Linked DNA regions of Homo sapiens: region 1 is linked to region 2. Evidence: promoter capture Hi-C in 16 types of primary human blood cells and fetal thymus (Javierre and others, 2016). All regions are on one chromosome and are shown on one strand. Each heading gives the region's core, a stretch centred on a gene start or on the middle of the fragment in contact. The rest is flanking DNA. Distances are from core to core; before and after follow the strand shown. Region 1 overlaps KIAA1328. Region 2 holds the start of ZNF397 (zinc finger protein 397).

Region 1 (7,079 bases), core at 309-2,808, 1.6 Mb after region 2:
TAAAAGATACAGAGGATTCCAGGATCCTTTGATGATGCCAGGTTTGAGCCTAAATTATCTGGATTACTCAAGGGTTTTGCTCCAAAACATCTGACTTGCTGTAAGCATTAGCCATGATAATGTATTATCTTGATATGTCTCAAAAGAACTACATTCTGATCTGTGTGGCATTGGTAAATCAAACTGATGAGAATTGCTTTTTAATTAGGCATCCTTTTTGATTTTTATTCTTGTGAATTTATTTGATAGATGAACCCTCGTAAAGATGAGGGACAAATCAATGACTAGGCATAGTAATAGTATCGGTGCATTCCTTTGGCACATGTCCTATCTGACCAGTTTATTTTACTTTAATTTTTGTTATATTTTCCCTCTGCAACCAGAGTTGTTCAATACCACTTCACACTCACTAGGATGTCTACACAAAACTTGTATATGAATGTTCTGGAATCTATAACCTGTGGACCAAATCCTTCTGCCTGTTTTATAAATAAAGGTTTTTTGGAATACAGCTGTGCTCATTGTTTTACATAATTGTCTATGGTTGCTTTTGTGTTACAATAGCAGGGTTGCTACAGAGACTGCATGCCCACAAGCTAAAAACATTTACTATCAGACCTTTTATAGAAAACTTTTTTCAGTCTGTGAATTATGTTCTCAAAGATATTTCCAGTGCCTCATTTATTACTACAGGATTTTACTGTGATTGAATCAAAAGGCCTACTTTACGTTACTTGTACCAGTGTACCCACTTCACACTGGGGTGTGAATAGTTGAATTTGCAAGTTCTTATCAAAAAAAGTTAAAAAATGTTTTTTCACATAATGGTTGATTTGTTTTACATTGAACAATAGCCTTCTTTTAGATTAAGTTCATATTTTTGTCCTATTGGCTATAACTTTTGATTGGATTATTTCAGTGGCTTCTTTAGAGATTATAGTATACATCTTTCATTTATCATAGCCTATTATCAAGTGATATTTTCCCACATTACCTATAGTTTAAGGACCTTTCAACACTGTACTTTATTTCTCACCTCCTGACTTTTTTGATATTGTTGTCATACATTTTACTTATGTGCACAGACCCCAAAATACATATTACATTTGCTTTAGTCAACTCTCTTTTTTTTCAAATTGAGATATAATTTGCATATAAAATTCACCTTTTTAAAGTGTACAGTTTATTATTTTGATTTTGTATGTGTTTATATTCACAGAGTTGTGGATCCATCACCACAATCTAGTTTCGAAACATTTTTATCACTCTAGAAAGAAACCCCATACCAATTAGGCACTTCTCATTCCCCAGTCATCTCAGCCCCTAGCAAACACTAATCTGCTTTCAGTCTCTATAGATTTGCTTGTTATTGATGTTGCATATAAAAGGAAATCACATAATATGTGGCCTTTTGTGACTGGCTTCTTTGATTTAGCATAATGATTTCAAGGTTCATCTATTCTGTATCATTACTTCATTCCTTTTTATGTCTGAATATACATTTTGTTTATCCATTTATCAGTCAATGGACATGTTCAACTTTCTAGCTATTATGAATAATTCTTCCATGATCATTCATATACAAGTTTTTGTGTAGACATATATTTTCAGTTCTCTTGTGTATATACCTATAAGTGAATTGCTGTGTCGTGTAGTTTTATGTTTAACCTTTTGACAAAATTCCAAACTGTTTTTTAAAGTGGTTACACCATGTTACATTCGACTAGCAATGTATGAGGATTCAGATTTCTCCACATTCTTGCCAACATTTATGTCCATCTTTTTTGAGGATGGCCACCCTAGTGGGTGTGAAGTGGTAATTCAATGTGATTTTGATTTGCATTTCCTTAATGACTAAATGATGATGAGCATGTTTTTATGTGCTTCTTGGCTATTTGTGTATCTTCGTCAGACAAATATCTAGTCATATCCTTTTTTAACTGAGTTATTTGTCTTAGTACTGTTAAGTTATGAGTTCTTTCTAAATTCCATTTACAAGTCCCTTATCAGATACATTATTTGCTAATATTTTTTCTCATTCTATGCATTGCCTTTTCACTTTTTTATTGGTGTTCTTTGAAGCACAGAAGTTTAAAATTTTGATGAAGTTCAGTTTATCTAGTGTTTTCTTCTGTCTCCTTTGCTTTGGTGTCATATCTGAGAAATTGTTGCCTAATCCAAGGTCACAAATATTTGTGCCTATTTTTTTTCTAAGAATTTTAAAGGTTTTACTCCTACATTTAGTTCTCATTCCATTTTGAGTTAATTTTTGTATATGGGGTGAGGTGGTAGTTTAACTTTATTCCTTTGCATGTAGATATCCAGTTGTCCCAGCACCATTTGTTAAAAAAACTGTCCTTTCCCCTTTGAATTTCTTGGCACCCTTGTCAAATATCTGTTGACCATAAGTGTAAGGGTTTATTTTTGGACTCTCTGTATTCTGTTCCATTGATTTATATTTTTATTTTTGGAATTAGGAAGTATAAGTCCTCCAACTTCTTCTTTTTCAAGATTGTTTTGGCTATTTTGGGTCCCAGTGTTTCCATAGGCATTATAGAATCAGCAAATGTTTTATACTTTTTGATGTTATTAGAAACACAGTTGTTTCTGAATTTCACTGTTGGATTGTTTATTGCTAGTATATAGAAATTCAGTTGATTTGTGAATTGATCTTGTATCCTGCAACTTTATCAAACTATTTCTAATCTAATAGTTCTTTTGTGAATTCCTTACCATTTTCTCTATATAAGATGAAGTTGTCTGTGAATAGAGATAGTTCACATATTCTTATTGGATGCCTTTATTCCATTTTGGATGCATTTTATTTTAATTGCCTTTTAAAGAAATTTTACAAATGCAACAGAAGTCTTTTAAATCTACTCATGTAGTTACCATTTCTGGTGTTTTCATTCTTTCACGTGTATCCAGATTTCCTAAAAGACTTCCTTTAACATTAGTTCAGGTATGCTAGGAAAGAATTTTTTCAGCTCACGTATGTCTGAAAAGTCTTTATTTCTCTTTCCTTTTCAAAAGATATTTTTGCTGGTTATAAAATTCTGAGTTGATAGTTTTATTCATTCAGTGCTTTAAAGATGTTGCTGCACTGTTGCCTGGCTTGTATTGTTTTTAAGAAGTTGGCTGTCATTTTTATTCCTCCTTATTTTTCTGTGTGTATGTGTTTAAATATGGCTGCTTTTAAGATTTTCTTCTTATCACTGGTTTTGAGCAATTTGGTTATAGTATACCCTGGAGTAATTTTTTTTTTTGAGGTGCAGAGTTGCTGTGTCGCCCAGGCTAGAGTGCAGTGGCACGATCTTGGTTTACTGCAACCTCCGCTTCCCAGGTTCAAGTGATTCTCCTACCTCAGCCTCCTGAGTAGCTGGGATTACGGGCGTGCACCGCCACACCCGGCTAATTTTTGTATTTTTAGTAGAGATGGGGTTTCACCATGTTGGTCAGGCTGGTCTCGAACTCCTGACCTCATTATCTGCCCGCCTCGGCCTCCCAAAGTGCTGGGATTACAGGTGTGAGCCACCATGCCCATCCTACCTTGGAGTAATTTTTAAAGTATCTCTTTTGTTTGAGGTTTGTTGAGCTTTTTGGGACTGTGGGTTTATAGTTTTCATCAAATTGGGAAATGTTTCAGCCATTGTTTCTCCAGATATTTTTGTTTCCCTCTCTTTCTAGTGACCTTAGTTGCACAAATACTAGGCCTCTTGAAGTTACCCTCTCAGCTCTCTGATCCTCTGTTCATATTTTTTTCATTAAAAAATTTTTTTGTTTATCCTTGGATAGTTTGTATTGCTGTTGCTATGTCTTCAAATTCATTAACCTTCTGCAATGTCTAATCTGCCACTAATCTCATCCAGTGTGTTTTTCATATGAAACAATGTAGTTTTATCTTTAGAAGTTCAGTTTCAGTCTCTTATTTTTGTTTACATCTTCCATGTCGCTACTTGACATGCTTTCTTCTAGGTTCTTGAACATATGGAACATAGTTATAATAACTGTTTCAATATTCTTGACTATGAATTCTATCATCCAAGTCATTTGTGGATAGGTTTCAATTGAGCAATTTTTCTCCTAATTATAGGCTGTATTTTTCTGCTTCTTTGCCTGCTTGGTTGTCTTTTATTGGATGTCACAAGACAGTATGCATTTTGCCTTTTTGGGTTCTGAGACAGTGATAAATTATTTGGAAGCAATTTGATTCTTTCCAAGCTTCATTTTGAGCTTTTAAAGGTGGTGCCAGAGCAGCTTTTAGTATAGGGGTAATTTTGCCCATTGTAGGCCATACTCTTTTGAATACTCTTCCTGATGCCCCTTAAATTACAAGGTTTTCCCCTCTGGCTGGTGGGAACAGACTGTTCTCCTATGCTGTATTAGCTACAGAAATTGTTTCCACTGTTCATTTTGGGCTCTTTCCCCGGGATGAGTAGTTTTCTCACATACATATGCTGGTCAGTGCTCAGTAGTTGACGCGAAGGGATTCTGCAGATCCCTGGAGCTCTCCTATGCAGCTCTATCCTTGGCATTACTTTGCCCTGCAAGGTTTCTAGTGTTTCTGCAAACACTAGAAACCTTGGCTTTCCTGGACTCCCAGCTGTATCTTTTCAACTCAGGGAGATTGCTGGGCTCTGTCTGGATTTACCTACCTTAGCCCTGAAAACTCTCCACAGCAGTTAGCTGGGACAGTTGTAGGGCTCGCCTTGTTTGTTTCTGCAATTCCAGTGATCATTCTGTGTTGCCTGCTATCCAATGAAAACTATTGTTTCCTGTTTTTTTGTCAGGTTTTTGTTTTGTTTTGTTTTCTGAAACTAGGGTAAATCTGGTCCCTGTTACTCCATCTGGGCTAGAAGAGGATGTCCTACATTGTCGGGGGTATATGTGTCTATGTGTGCTTTTTCTTAAAACTAGAAATGGTGGTTTGCTTTTTCTTTTCCTTTTTTCCATTGAAGAGCATGTCTTGTGATTTTTTTTTTTTTTTTTGACAGAGTCTGGCTCTGTAGCCCAGGTACAGTGGCATGGTCTCGGCTCACTGCAACCTCTGCCTCCTGGGTTCTGGTTCAAGAAATTCTCATGCCTCAGCCTCTCAACTAGCTGGGATTACAGGAACGCACTACCATGCCCAGATGATTTTTGTATAAACAGAGATGGGGTTTCACTATGTTGACCAGGCTGGTCTTGAACTCCTGACCTCGTGATCCACCCACCTCGGCCTCCGAAAGTGCTGGGATTATAGGCATGAGCCACTGTGCCCAGCCATCTTGTGATTTTTTTCTCTGTGTAGTCTTTGTTGGTATTGATGTTGAGTATCCTTAATTCATTAAGGATTTCACAGTGGTAATTAGGTCAGTTCAAGTCTTCTGGGAAGCAGACCGCGAGATGGAATTAGAAATGGAAGAGATTTAATGAAGGAAAAGCTTATAAAGCATAAAGAGTAGAATGAGCAGGAATCTTCAGATTTCACTACAGTCTGGCACCTGTGACAGGAGAGGAAAAGAAGGAAGATTGACTAGGAAGAACCTCAGACTTCAGATTGCCATGCAATCTGAGATAAGTGTCCTTTTTGCTAGTGAGGAACCCCAGAGCAAATACTGCCTTTTGAGGATGCCATTTGGATCAGAAATAGCTCAGTTCTAGTGTCTCTACTGTTCCCAGTCATTGGTGTTGGTATGAACAGTGCAGTGGATCCCAAAGGTTTGGCAACTGGAGGCTGTTAGCTGATTATACTCTGCAGCAAGTTCCCTCTCTCTTTTGTGGCCATATTGCTTTATTTTTTACAGTTAAGCCTACTATTCATCAGGAAGTAATATGCACATGTAGTGTAAAGTAAGATTCACTGCAATTCAGAGAGAAAAGAATCCTCTTCCCAATAGATGGTGTTGGGCCCATAGACTGCCAGTATTGGGTCAATAGACTGTCAGTATTGGCCCAACACCATCTACTGGGAAGAGGATTCTTTTCTTCTTTGAATTGCAATGATACCATTGTTGTAAGTCAAGTGACTGTAGATATGTGGCCTTTCCTCATCATGTTTTCTTCTTTGGTAATTCGTATCCTGAACTTTATAATTCTTTTGTTTTTCCATATCGGGGTTCGCCGACTTTTTCTATAAATTGGACAGGTAGTAAATACTTTAACTTTTGCAGGCTGTAACATCTGTCTCAACAACTCAACTCTGCCACAGTAGCATTAAAAGAGCCATAAGCAATATGCAAATGAATGAGCACGTTTTAATAAACCTTTGTTTACAAAAACAGCCAGTGGGCCAGATTCGGCTTGCAGCCATGGTTTACCAAGCCCTGTCCTACAGTGTAAATACATTTTTTTTGAAACAGTATTTCATATATATTTGGAACTTTATATAAATGAGCTCATATCCATTTGTATTGTGTGATTTGCTTTTTATTTCATATTATGTTTATGAGATTTCTTGTTTTTTTTTCCCTCTATGGCTCTTCCAATGTTACGTGAGATTTCTTTATGTTGTATGTAGTTATATTTCATTTCTTTTCACCGTCTCGGGGTTTAGTCAGTTATTTTAACTTAGAATATTTAAAAGAAAAATTATTGAATAGTGCGAGAACCAAAAAGGCAAAAAGGGAACATTAAAGTATCATGAAAGTAGTAACTATAAGAAACAACCACAATCTCTAGAACTGGATGAGAGGGCAGAATAAGTCGGAATTATTGAAACTTAGAAGCTTAGAGGAGGGGCCCCTTAAAGCTGCAACTTGGACCTCTGGTGATGGGACACCAACCCGGCTGGTACTGCCATTTCTGAGGAGGCCTGATAAAGGCTGGTTCTGTAAGGGCTGGAAAAAATTGCAAACTGGAATCAGCAGTACTTGCCAGGGTAAGGAACTCAGGGGTGACACTGTCAGTAACAGGAAGGAAGTAGCCTTCCTTCTTTCTTCCTGGTCTTCATCTAGTTCTTTGTGTTGGCAGAGTTCAACAGAGTGCCAGGTGGCGAAGGAGAAATGGTGTTTCCAGAGTCTTAGACTTAGCATCTCAAAGCAGAGGGTGGAAGGGTAGTTTTGAGGGGGAAAGTTAGTATCATAGCTACCAGTACCTCT
Region 2 (6,784 bases), core at 989-3,488:
TAATCGTATAAAGGGGCAAAAGATAAAGGTGTTCCCCTTTTTGGTCTCTGAACATTATCTGTAATCTGGAACTGAGGAAATCATTTTAGGACCATAAAGGAAGCCAGACTGGAGAACAACACACTTAAAGATGGCAGAGCCAAAAGAAGGAAGAAACCTGTGTCCTTGACAATATTGTCCAGATGCAGAAGTAACCAACCCTGGGAATGATTTTATCTCCATGCATCTAGCTATTAGGATTTGTTTTTAAAAGGCTTGAACAATAAGGACATTTAGTAAGGTTCCTGTTACTGCAGCCAAAAGCATTTCAACTGATATGCCTTCTCTCTTTCAATAGTTTCACTCTTACATAGTAGGTTTCTCAATATAACAAGGTGTGTTAGGTTGGATGCAAAGATAACTGCCAAAATTTCCTCCTATGATCAAGCTGCTTAATGTCTATTTCCCTTTTCCACCATTCTAGTCCTTCTGTCATGGAATACTGCAGAAAAATATAATGCCAGTTCCAGACTCAGGCTTTAAGAGAATTAGCATCTTTCCTCCTCCTTAACTCTCTTGGAAGCCAGTCACCATGTAAGAAAGCTTAGGCTAAACTCCTGAATGGAGAGAGGCCTTGTGGAGAAGAATCAAGTAACTTCAACCAAGAGGCAACACCAAGACTTCAGCAATTTGAGTGAAGCCATCTTGGACCTTCCACCCCAGTTAAGTGAAGATAGCTGACACATCATAAAGCAGACTAGCCATCTCCGCTAAGCCCTTCCTGAATTCCTGGCAACAGAACTGTGAGCAATAAAACATCTGCTGTTTTTAGTCACTAAGTCTTGAAGTGGTTCATTATGAAGCAATTGATAATTTATAAACAAATTAATATTATTTGGTTTTTTGCTTTGTAAAATTGCTGTAGTCATTTCACAATGATAAAATTATTTAGTGAGTCACTAATAGCTTTGAATGCTAACGAACATTTTTCTCAAATATGTGTTTTAAGTCTTGGCTCACAAAGGAGAATTTGTTTCTATGTATGTATGTATCGCTTTGTTATTATCCTGTGTACTTTTTTAATATAACATTTTAAAAATATGTAACATTTAAACATGTAAAATGTAACGTTTTAAAAATAAATACAAATAAATGGGAAACGATTTGCAACAAACGAGTTGCTATCCTTAATAAGCAAAAAATTCTCACAAATAAAAAAGAAAAATCTTACTCCCTTAATTTTTTAAATGGGAAAAGCCATCTCTGAAGAACCATAAATGGTCAGTAAACATGAAGGGGGACTATCTTAAGCTCACAAAGTTGAAACATGAGGCATCATTTTTCACCGACTAAATAGCCAAAGAAAAATTTAAACAGTGAGACAATACCAGCAAGCTTCCACTGAAGAACGGGAAGACCCTAAGATAGGCTCCAGGAGTCTACGATACCAGTCTCCTTGAACTATGGGGACGTGGACGTCCCTGGTCACAAGTTGCCTGACTTTGGGCGATGTCTACGGCTGTAAATTTGGGATTATATAGCCACAGCACAGAACTGTTGTAAGGCTCCAGTGATACTCATAGGCAAAAGCAATATAAGTGACTGTTAGTTTTTGTTCAGCCTATTCATCCTTACATTTACTTTTGTCGGAAAAGAACTGGAATCACAGGAAAATCTGAGGTTTTTTTTTTTTTTTTTTTTTTGAGACAGAGTCTCGCTCTGTCGCCCAGGCTGGAGTGCAGCACATCTCAGTTCACTGCAAGCTCCGCCTCCCGGGTTCACGCCATTCTCCTGCCTCAGCCTCCCGAGTAGCTGGAACTACAGGCGCCCGCCAACATGCCCAGCTAAATTTTTGTATTTTTAGTAGAGACGGGGTTTCACCGTGTTAGCCAGGATGGTCTCTATCTCCTGACCTCGTGATCCGCCCGCCTCGGCCACCGCGCCCGGCCGAAAATCTGAATATTTTAATGGAAAACTGGGAGTGAGATTCGGGAATTACTTGAGACCAACAATGATGGGTGGTGCCAGGAGAAAGCCAGGGTGGGAACGGCCCAGGCGAGATGCGGGACCCTCCAGGTGCCGCCGCTCACAAGGACCCCTGACTCCTAGCGCACCCTCCCCTGGCCTTGGAGATTCCGCCGGGCTAGCGGCTACCGGGAGAAGGCGGTGGAAACTGTAGAGCCCGCGGCTCTGATTGGCTACCTCAGAGCAAGGGGCGGGGCGGCGGAGGACCCGAAGGGCGCGAGAGCGGAACACTGCGTACGCGCACTTCCGGTCTTTGTGGCTTGCAGCTCGGGGTGGGTGGCTCATTTCCTGGCCGCTCCTGGGCTTCGCGGTGAGGGACGTGGGCCCCTAGGAAGAGGGAGGTGGGGTTGGGAGCGCGCGCCGGACAGTGGAGGAGCTCCGCTCCTCGGCCTGCCCATCCCCAGGTCGCGGCCCTTTGGCCCGCGCGGCGTCTCCAAGCGACTGGGGAACTCAGAGGAGGCCAGCACTCAAACTCCTGCTTTCCAAAGGAAAACGCAGTTCCGCTGACCCCGTGACTTCGTAAATGCTGCGGTTTAACCAAGGATATAAAAATAGAAGGGCTAGTTAGTTAGTTAGTTAGTGCGGCCGGACTGGTTAAACCTTAAATTTGTAGGCTAAATATTTTAATTCATCTCTTAACGTTAACCGTAGTGTGAGGAATGAATTTTACTCATCTGTCCTGACAAACTAAGGGCATACATTCCTATCGATATCTCGCCATCCTAAAAGCAGGTCAAGTTTGGTCTGTGTCACAACATTTAATACCTATTTGTTACCATATTTTGCTTTTGAACATTTTTAGTCTTGGGATATTCTAAGCTTTTTCAGAACTGATACGGATCTCTTTGCTGCTTTTGTGTATGTGATACCTATCATGTTTTTGAACACATGGTAAGCATTTTACAGATACGTCTTGGTTCTTGGTCAATTCCTCTGTAGACTCGTTTATTCATAAGCAAAAATCTTAATGCTCAGTAAGTGCCTCAGTGTTTGTTGAAGTAATTCGGTAAACACCAAATGCGATCAAATGACAAATATCCAATATTTACATCAACTCATGTTTAATGTGAACTTTTAAAAAAACGTTATTACTGCCTTAAATGAAAATCAACATTACTTGCTTTAGATAGAAAGTAAGTAAAAATAAATGTTTAAAATCAGTATTACTAAATTCTGCCTAAATATTTTTACTCTTGGAAGTCTGATTCTGAAGCCTGTATTTTATTTAAAAGAGAGTTCTACAAGTTTTATTAATACATACATGTTAAAGATAGACTTTTCTCCTTGATACAATCAGAATTGAAAGAATTGGAAAGGAAATTTTCTCACTATGTGATTGATGTTAATGTTGCATTCACATTCTTAGGCTTCTAAAATAGTTTTTTCTAACATTAGTGGTAGGAATTCTTCATAATGGGAGACACTAATTGAGGTTAATGATTTTTAGTTTATCATCACATTATTGTTTTATTTAGTGATAGCCCCAAATCTACTCCCTTTCAATATATTACTAAAGTTACTCATCTTTCTTATTACAAGTACTTAGAGATTTTATTGATTGCTGTAAGTTAACTGCTTTTATATCCTTCAGGAAAGAAGAGATTACTCACACTCCTTCGCAAGCACAGAACCAGTTGTACTGAGCTTTTTGCTAAGCTGTTTCAGCCAAGAATGGCTGTGGAATCTGGAGTGATTTCAACCCTGATACCTCAGGATCCTCCGGAACAAGAACTAATACTAGTGAAAGTAGAAGATAACTTTTCCTGGGATGAGAAATTTAAGCAGAATGGGAGTACTCAATCCTGCCAAGAATTGTTTCGTCAGCAATTCAGAAAATTTTGCTACCAGGAGACACCTGGGCCCCGGGAGGCTCTGAGCCGACTCCAGGAACTTTGCTATCAGTGGCTAATGCCAGAGTTGCACACAAAGGAGCAGATCTTAGAACTGCTGGTACTGGAGCAGTTCCTGAGCATTCTGCCTGAGGAGCTGCAGATCTGGGTTCAGCAACATAATCCAGAAAGCGGCGAGGAAGCTGTGACCCTGTTGGAGGATTTAGAGAGGGAGTTTGATGACCCAGGGCAGCAGGTGGGAACGGAGAAAAGTGATGTGGGAAAAGGAATTTACAGCCTGGAGCATGTAATGGTATCATAACAGTAGGATAAAAATTTTTATGTCTCTACTGAACCCTAACCTGAAGTGACTAATAGAGCCATACTTGTCTATACCCTTGAATGGTCTTTTTCCCCTGTCCTTCATCCCTGGAGATGTCATCATTGACCTCTTTGAGATTTTTACTAAGCAAGTTTTCTTAGGGATTTTCTCACAAAGCTAACCATATTTTACTGATTTCAGGTCCCAGCTAGTCCACAGGGACCAGCAGTGCCATGGAAGGATTTAACATGTCTCAGAGCATCCCAAGAGTCAACAGACATCCACCTCCAGCCCTTAAAGACACAGCTGAAATCCTGGAAACCATGCCTTTCCCCTAAAAGTGGTGAGGAATGGGAAATCATCTGGAAACTCTTGACACTTAGGCCTCTGTTTTTGAGAATGCAGAATTAATTGCACTTGACAAACTTGCCACATGTGAGCATCACCTTTATTATTCTAAACCAGAGGTGCTCGCTTTAGCGGCTTTGTATTCACCCCTCATGAATTGCTGTCAGCCCTCCTGTGTGAGTTTCCCTGTTATTCATTCATTCATTTCATTATGTTGTAACTTTATAAAGCGTCAATACATGTCTGGTACTGTGGTAGGCCCCAGGAGAGGTTTCAGGTCTAGGTGGGTGATGGACAAATAAAAAGGCAGTTGCAATGTAGTAAATTATAGAATATAAGTAGGCAGTGGGTACTGTTGGAGCACATCTAAAGGCACCTAACCCAATCTTAGAGGATCAAGGAACACTTCCTGAAGGAAGAAAATCTAAGCTAAGACTTGAACTATGAGTAAGAGAAAGCCAGGTAAATAGGTGGGAGGAGGAGTAGCCCAAGTAAAGGCCATACCATCCCGAAGGTGTGAGAATATAACCCATTCTGAAAATTGCAGGTAGTTTAATTTGACTTGAATGGAGAATTGACAGGTGGTAAGAGAAGAACCAGAGAGGAAAATAGGATCCAAGTCATGAAGACCTGTATGTCATGTTAATTTGTTTGTATAGTTTCTTAAGTGCAGTGGGATGCAGTTGAAGGATTTTGGACAAGGAGTGACATAGTTTGATTTGCAGTTTAGAAGTTAGCTGCAAATGGAGAATCATGTAAGGAAGGCAAGAGTATAGTCCTATTAAAGACTGCTGTAATCCAAGTGGCCACAGTGTATTCAATCAATATGTGTTATGGTAAGCGGTGGAGAACATAAAAGCTGACTCCTGTTCAACAGCATTTAAGTTGTTTTGCAACATCTGGTAATTATTAAAACTAGAGTGTGAGGGAGAGGAGTTGAGGATGATACTGAGGTTTCAGTCTTCAACAGTCTGGTTAATGGTAGTACTGTTCATGTGAATGAGAAAACATAAGGAAAAACAGATACATCTGATGATGTGTTTAGGTTGGTACATTTGGTGCTTGTGAAATATTCAAAAGTAAAATGCCCAATTAGCATAAGACTCTAGAGCTTAATAAAATATGGATATAATTGGGGATCTGGGCAGACATTAGTCAGACAATAGCTTACAATGTAAGATGTAATGGAAGCCAAGGGTAGAGAGTTTGTAGAGTAAGGATACATGAGAGCCCAAAACAGAATCTGGAGGAACGCTCGTGTTTGAGTGATTTACCCTAGAATCTAAGAAGGAACAGCCACAGAAATCAGGCTAATATCACTGGAAGAGAATGTCTCTAGAAGGAAGGTGTGATCCTCAGTGTCAATGCTACAGAGAGGCTAAGTAATAATCTAGAAAGTACTTAGTGGATTAAAGAGCTATGAAGTGATCTTGATGAGAGTAGTATCAGTGGAAGTAGGGGACGGGGCGGTGGGGGGCGGGGGAGGACAGTAAGGCAGAAACCAGATTGTGGAATGAGGATACTTTCACTTGAAAGGCTGCAGACAACTCTTTCAAGAAATCACTATGAGAGAGTGAGGTTGCGAAACCACTTGAGAGAGAGTGAGGTTGCTTGAGGGAGATATGTAGGCAAGAAGGTTGATTTTAAAAGGTGAGAGACACTTAAGCTTATTTAAAAGCTGATGAACAGGAATCAGTTGAGAAAGAGATTGTAAATAGTAGAAAAAAATTGTAGGTAATTTATCAGTTGATGTCTCAAAAGAGGCAGGAAAGGATGGAATTCGAAGTGTAGATGTAGACTTTATTATTAGATAAGAGAGACCCTCTTTTGGCCAGTTGAAAAAAAAGATACTGGAGGACAGTGACATCTTTGTAGGTAGAAGCTTCTGTTTTCTCTCATGTAGAAAGTTTTGACGGTGACAAGAGAAATGTAATATCTGTTTTTTTGCTACTTATTGTTTCAGATTGTGAGAACAGTGAAACAGCAACAAAAGAGGGCATCTCAGAAGAAAAATCACAGGGACTCCCTCAGGAACCTTCATTTCGAGGAATTAGTGAGCATGAAAGCAATTTAGTGTGGAAGCAAGGAAGTGCTACAGGGGAGAAACTAAGATCTCCTTCCCAAGGGGGCAGTTTTAGTCAAGTGATCTTCACAAACAAATCTCTAGGAAAGAGAGACCTTTATGATGAGGCTGAAAGATGCTTGATTCTAACTACAGACTCTATAATGTGTCAGAAAGTTCCTCCAGAAGAGAGACCTTATAGATGTGATGTATGTGGGC

The links. Contacts are between HindIII fragments. The CHiCAGO score rates a contact against its expected background, and 5 or more counts as called.
Region 1: a fragment that was not itself captured here is called in contact with the fragment with the promoter of ZNF397 in region 2 in 3 of 17 cell types (naive CD8 T cells, activated CD4 T cells and total CD4 T cells); the score reaches 6.8 in naive CD8 T cells.

Annotation. Positions count from the first base shown.
Region 1 is chr18:36,835,487-36,842,565 of GRCh38, forward strand. The region is part of intron 3 of KIAA1328; the gene reads left to right. Among named protein-coding and RNA genes, the nearest start is that of KIAA1328, 9.9 kb to the left of the region's middle. The HindIII fragment of the contact is 5,322 bases long and covers 1-4,219 here.
Region 2 is chr18:35,238,796-35,245,579 of GRCh38, forward strand. It overlaps ZNF397 (zinc finger protein 397), which reads left to right and starts at 2,239. Exons shown (of 4, transcript NM_001135178.3): 1 at 2,239-2,314; 2 at 3,596-4,089; 3 at 4,357-4,498; 4 at 6,467-6,784. The coding sequence starts at 3,676. RefSeq lists enhancers at 1,921-2,030, 1,976-2,501 and a silencer at 2,291-2,420. The HindIII fragment of the contact is 1,449 bases long and covers 1,373-2,821 here.